Regions from separate parts of the Homo sapiens genome. Here region 2 is linked to region 1. Evidence: promoter capture Hi-C in 16 types of primary human blood cells and fetal thymus (Javierre and others, 2016). All regions are on one chromosome and are shown on one strand. The core of a region is centred on a gene start or on the middle of the fragment in contact, and the rest is flanking DNA. Distances in the headings are between cores, read along the strand shown. Region 1 holds the start of SGSM3 (small G protein signaling modulator 3). Region 2 has its middle 5.4 kb from the start of MRTFA.

Region 1 (3,122 bases), core at 407-2,906:
AAAAAATCTTGAAAGGATACTAAGTCTGACACAAGGAAATTAAGTCATGGGACTCTGACCAGATATTCTGTCTACTTCCTTCTCTGCTATGGGCAACTTGGAGGCAGCAACTACTATCAGTTTATCTGTAATGTGAGAATTTATATTACATAACAGATACTGGGGATATAGGATACCATGGATTTTAGTTAATACATTTCCTCATAGAAAATAAGGAAATAACAGTCTTGTTCCTGTCCTAACAATTCTGTTAGACTAATGATCTCCAGTGATTGGCGATTTGACCTGGTTTCTTCCTGGACTATTTGAATGGGTGGATTTGTTGGTGCATCTCTTGTCTTCTTTCCTTTTCCATTCTCCTTTATTTTTGTATTTACATACTTGTATGCAACTTTGTAATCTGATTTTCCCATGTAACATTTTAATTTGATGGGTGGTCTGCGTGTTCACTGGAAAACATATATATATTAAATGTACATTTATGTATATATATAAAATATACATTCATATATATTATATATAATATACATTCATATATATTATATATAATATACATTCATATATCTATCTTTTATATATATATATAGACAAGATCTTGCTCTGTCGCCCAAGCTGGAGTGCAGTGGCATGACCACAGTTCACTGCAGCCTTGATTTCCTGGGCTCAAGCGATCCTCTCACCTCAGCCTCTTGAGTAGCTGGGACTATGGCACACACAACCACACGTGGTTCATTTTTTGTTGTTTTTTGTAGAGACAGGGTCTCACTCTGTTAACCCAGGCTGTTGTATTTTCTTTAAGATTGGTTTAAATTCACACGGACTCCAGCATCAGAACTACCCAGATGTCAGGTTCTGGGCAGAACTTGGGGCAACTGATGAAATGTCTGCTCAGCTGAAGTCAGACACCTGGACACTTAATGCCCTCTTTCCCTGGCTGATGCTCAGTTTCATTTAAGAACCAGGAGAGCCTGATGTTTGTAAACACAGCTTTAGTGGAAGCACGAGGGTTAGGAGTCCCTAGAAAGGTGATATGAAGCCTAGGTGGATGTGAGGGTTGGTGAGATGGGAATTGCACAGCATAGAATCTGACACAGAAGGTACTCAGAAAATTTCGTTTTCCGGCCTGGCGCGGTGGCTCACGCCTGTAATCCCAGCACTTTGGGAGGCTGAAGCGGGCAGATCATCTGAGGTCAGGAGTTCGAGACCAGCCTGGCCAACATGGTGAAACCCCGTCTCTACTAAAAATACTGTACTAAAAATACAAAAAAATTAGCTGGGCGTGGTGGCGGGCGCCTGTAATCCCAGCTACTCGGGAGGCTGAGGCAGAGAACTGATTGAACCTGGGAGGTGGAGGTTGCAGTGAGCCGAGATCACGCCACTGCACTTCAGCCTGGGTGACAGAGCGAGACTCCATCTCAAAAAAAAAAAAAAAAAAAAATTAGCAAGTTATTTGCAGCGTCTATCTCCCACCACCCTGACTGCTGGTCCACACCATACTGTCCCAAGCTTCTCAGGCTGCGGTGCAGACGAAGAAATCATCGCTATGCATGCTGGCCTTGGGATGGGGGCGCAAAGCCCCTGGACGCGCCCCGCCTAGTGGGCGGGAACGACTACAGCCCCCAGCATGACCCGCGGCCGCCCATGCCACGCCCCGCCACGCGTGCGCTTAGGCGCCGCTGAGCGCTGACTGGGTGCGAGTGGGGAAGCTGCTAACCCGACCCGGATTGGCGCTGAGGTGGCCCGTGGGGCAGGTGAGTGCGGGGCGGGAGTCAGCGGAGACCCACCGGCGCCTACAAGTTCCCCTCAGGCGGGGGCTGCGGGGCGGCTGTGGTCGGACTGTCCGACCGAGGGTCGTATGGGCCGAAGGCGCCCACGAGAGAAGCACCGCCTCGGGCCGGAGAGCCGCCGGGCCGACCTTGCTCGCGTCGCCGTTGGAATGGGGGCCGGGGACGCGGCGGGGCGGGGAGGTCGGCTGCGTCCTCCGGTGCGGCCGCCCCTAGACGGCCGAGGCCACCTCAGGTGTTCGGGGCGCCAGCCGGAATCCACCGCGCTGGCAGCCGGGAGCGGTTTTACGAAAACCGCGCCTGAGGCGGGGGGCTTTCTAAAAAGAGCCTGGCTGGCTCTGGCACCGGGACAGCTGCAGACTCCTCCTCAGGTTTAACTTGCGGTTTTCCCTTTAAGATTCAGATCCAGGTGCAGAACCCGGGCTCGGATCCAGGCCCGAGACTCGGAACACCGGTGTGTTTGCATTTTAGCACGGGGGAAACTGAGGCATACGTTAGCCAGAATCATCCGGTGTGGTTAGGACTGGAATTTTGAAAATTATTCTCATACTTAGTTTACTGACCTAGGCTCTTTTTTATTTGGAAAGAAAAATAAAGATGTTTCAAAGGTTGTTTTCAGTGACTGGGTGACTAGTGTATCTTCCAGTCTCACGCTGCACGTTTGTGGTGGGTTGATGGCTCTTTTTTGTTTTGCGGTGGGATAGAGATGTCCTGGAATGTTCTACACCTTTCTTATTCTTTCTTAGTAAATTCAAGTCAAATCAGACTCTGATTCACAAAAACTCATTTTCAACTTCGACTCGTTTACTCGTAGTTTTTGTGACAGGTTTGTGATTAGGTTTATAGGTACATATGTTTCCCGCTTTTCTTGCTCTTTTAGTTCCAATTATCTCTGCACTCTAAACAGTTGAATTACATCTTTGTTTTTACACTATTTCTGTTCTTGGTGATTAATTTGTAATTCTTCTTTTCTTTTCTTTTCTATTTTTTTTTTAAGACGGGAGTTTCGCTCTTGCCCGGGCTGGAGTGCAATGACATGATCTCGGCTCACTGCAAGCTCCGCCTCCCGGATTCAAGTGATTCTCCTGCCTCAGCCTACCGAGTAGCTGGGATTACAGGCGCCCGCCACCACGCCCGGCTAATTTGTGTATTTTTAATAGAGACGGGGTTTTTCGCCATGTTGGCCAGGCTGGTCTCGAACTCCTGACCACAGGTGATCCGCCCGTCTCGGGCCTCCCAAAGTGCTGGGATTACAGGCGTGAGCCACTGCGCCAGGCCCGATTAATTTGTAATTCTATAGATATCTTTCCTGGCTTTTGATAATCCTAAGTGAATGTA
Region 2 (3,122 bases), core at 402-2,901, 270 kb after region 1:
GTCACAGGATGAGATAGGTCAGCACAAGATACAAGGACCTTGCTAATAAAATATGTTATGGTAAAGAAGCCGGACAAAACCCACCAAAGCCAAGATGGTAAGAAAAGTGACCTCTGGTCATCCTCACTGCTCATTATACACTATTTATAATGCATTAGCATGCTAAAAGGCACTCCCACCAGTGCCGTGACAGTTTACAGATACCATGGAAATGTCCAGAGGTTACCCTCTCTGGTCTAAAAATGGGAGGAAACCTCAGTTCCAGTTCCAGGGATTGCCCACCCCTTTCCCAGAAAATTCATGAATAATCCATCCCTTGCTTAGCATATAATCGAGAAGTGACAATAAGTATAAGCAGCTGAGTGGCCCATGCCACTGCTCTGCCTATGGAGTGGCCATTCTTTTGTATCTCTTTTTTTTTTTTTCCTTTTTTTGACACAGAGTCTTGCCCTGTCACCCAGGCTGGAGTGCAGTGGCACAATCTCAGTTCACTGCAACCTCTGCCTCCCAGGTTCAAGCGATTCTCCTCCCTCAGCCTCCAGAGTAGCTGAGACTACAGGTGCGTGCCACCACACCTGGCTAATTTTTGTATTTTTGGTAGAGAGGGGCTTTCACCATATTGGCCAGGCTGGTCTAGAACTCCTGGCCTCAAGTGATCTGCACCCCGACTCAGCCTCCGAAAGTGCTGGGATTACGGGCCTGAGCCACTGCACCTGGCCTCTTGTTTCCTTACTTCTCTAATAAACTTGCTCTCACTTAACTCTATGAATTCGCCTCAAATTCTTTCTTGCACGAGATCCAAGAACCCTCTCTTGAGGTCTAGATCAGGAGGCCTTGCTGGTAACAGAACCACTCCGCCCCACTGTCTATCCCTGTAGCTGCCTTGGGAATATGACTCACTACTCACCTTGGGGTTGGGGGGTGGGGGGGATCACATGGCCCAGTCCTAACCAATGAAAGCACTCCAACCCTTGCCTGCCATCATTTGTAGTGATTGATTTAGGGAAAGACATGTGATCAAGACAGTCCAGTTAGCGTGAGTCCTGGCATCTTGTTAGAACTACTGGGATGGGGCCGAGAGCAGTGGCACATGCCTGTAATCCCAGCAATTTGGGAGGCGGGGGGATCACCTGAGGTCAGGAGTTCAAGACCAGTCTGACCAATATGGTAAAACCCCGTCTCTACTAAATACAGCTGGCTGTTGTGGCTCGCGCCTGTAATCCCAGCTACTTGGGAGGCTAAGGCAGGAGAATCGCTTGAACCTGGGAGGCTGAGGCAGGAGAATCGCTTGAACCTGGGAGGCAGAGGCTGCAGTGAGCCAAGATCATGCCATTGCACTCCAGCCTGGGAAACAAAAGCAAAACTCCATCTTAAAAAAAACAACTACTGGGATGGAGTTTTCTCTACAGGAGGGTTGCTGAACTGTCTGGCTGTACACCTGGCATTAACAGTGAGGACCACAGGGAGAATAAAGCCAACACAAAACCAAACAATCACAGCTGAAATACGCATAAAGGCCATGACGGATGATAGCTCTGTTTGAGAACCTAGATCCAGTTCTTTTCTGGCTATTTGATTTCATAGGTGTCTTGGGTCAGGGCCCTTAGAAACAGAGCCTGTAAGACAGAGCCAATGAACAGGACTTAGTGAGGGAGGAAAAACCTGTAAGGGAGGAAGATGAGCAAGACAGAGAAGGGAAGAGACTCGAGTAAGGCTCAGCCTGATCTTTCCTTGGCCTGATGCACATAGGAGAGCTCTGGGCAGAAACAACACCACAGTCACTCACCTTGAGGCATGGACAGCTTTTTGTCCCCTAGTCTATGTCAGTGGTTGTGGGCCCTAAGGAAGTTAAGGTCCCCAAGGCCACTCCCTTCAAATGAGGGCAATTCTCTGAAATTTTGTGCAGCTGGGAACCCTTAGCAGCCAACACTCACAGCAGCTGGGGCATGGGTGCACTTACCTGCTCAGGAGGCATCATTTGAGTTGTCCGCTGTGGGCTAACACATTCCTATTGTTGCAGCAAAAATGTAACTATGTAAAGTGCTCAGGTATGACCTGACCTGACTGCCAAACAGTACCGTGAGCCTGTGGCCTTCCTCGGTCTGACTCCCTACGTCTACTATTAAACTATACTTTTTGCATGTGTATATGGAGACAGGGTCTTACTCTGTCACTCAGGCTAGAGTGCAGTGGTGTGATCATAGCTCACTGCAGCCTCCAACACCTGGGCTCAAGCGATCTTCCCACCTCAGCCTCCCAAGGAGCTTGGAAGTACAGATGCTCACCACCTTGCTCAACTAATTTTTAAATTTTTTTTGTAGAGACAGGGCCTGGTTATGTTGCCCAAGCTGGTCCCAAACTCTTGGCTTCAAGTGATCCTTCCACCTCAGCCTCCCAAACACTGGGATTACAATTGTAAGCCACCGTGCCTGGTTCATTTTATTTATTTTTTATTACTTTTTTTTTAATTTTTATTTATTTATTTATGACAGAGTTTTGTTCTATTGCCCAGGCTGGAGTGCAGTGGTGCAATCTTGGCTCACTGCAACGTCTGCCTCCCGGGTCCAAGTGATTCTCCTGCCTCAGCCTCCTGAGTAGCTGGGACTACAGGCATGTACCACCACACCTGGCTAATTTTTTTGTATTTTTAGTAGATAGCAGGGTTTCACCATGTTGGCCAGGCTGGTCTTGAACTCCTGGCCTCCAGTGATCTGCCCGCCTTGGTCTCCCAAAGTGTTGGGATTACAGGTGTGAGCCACCGTGCCTGGCTTCATTTTATATTTGCATCGGCAGATCTAGTGGCTGCACTGACCCTTTGGCTCAACCTGACTTTATAACCAATCCTTTCCACCCCCTTCCCTCTAGAGCTTTTCCCAAAAACTGATACTAAGCCAAATTCACTCTTGTATTTCTATAATTAATTCTTTTTTTTTTTTTTTTGAGATGGAGTCTCGCTCTTGTCGCTCAGGCTGGATTGCAGTGGCGGGATCTTGGCTCACTGCAACCTCCGTCTCCCGGATTCAAGCAATTCTCCTGCCTCTATAATTAATTCTTTAACACAAATGTAAAACTTTAAGCCTCACTCTGCTAATCATGAGCAGCCAGTTGTCCTTCTGTCCATT

What was found. The method cuts DNA at HindIII sites, captures the fragments that hold promoters and counts their contacts. A CHiCAGO score of 5 or more calls a contact.
Region 2: a contact is called between a fragment that was not itself captured here and the fragment with the promoter of SGSM3 in region 1, in 2 of 17 cell types (endothelial precursors and M2 macrophages). The highest score is 6.0, in endothelial precursors.

The regions. Positions count from the first base shown.
Region 1 is chr22:40,368,938-40,372,059 of GRCh38, forward strand. SGSM3 (small G protein signaling modulator 3) reads left to right here and starts at 1,657. Exons shown (of 22, transcript NM_015705.6): 1 at 1,657-1,751. It overlaps ADSL (adenylosuccinate lyase), which reads left to right. Exons shown (of 13, transcript NM_000026.4): 13 at 1-430. RefSeq lists an enhancer at 1,343-1,552 and silencers at 1,703-1,812, 1,873-2,042. The HindIII fragment of the contact is 2,317 bases long and covers 1,505-3,122 here.
Region 2 is chr22:40,640,527-40,643,648 of GRCh38, forward strand. No RefSeq gene overlaps it. Among named protein-coding and RNA genes, the nearest start is that of MRTFA, 5.4 kb to the left of the region's middle. The HindIII fragment of the contact is 3,975 bases long and covers 1-3,122 here.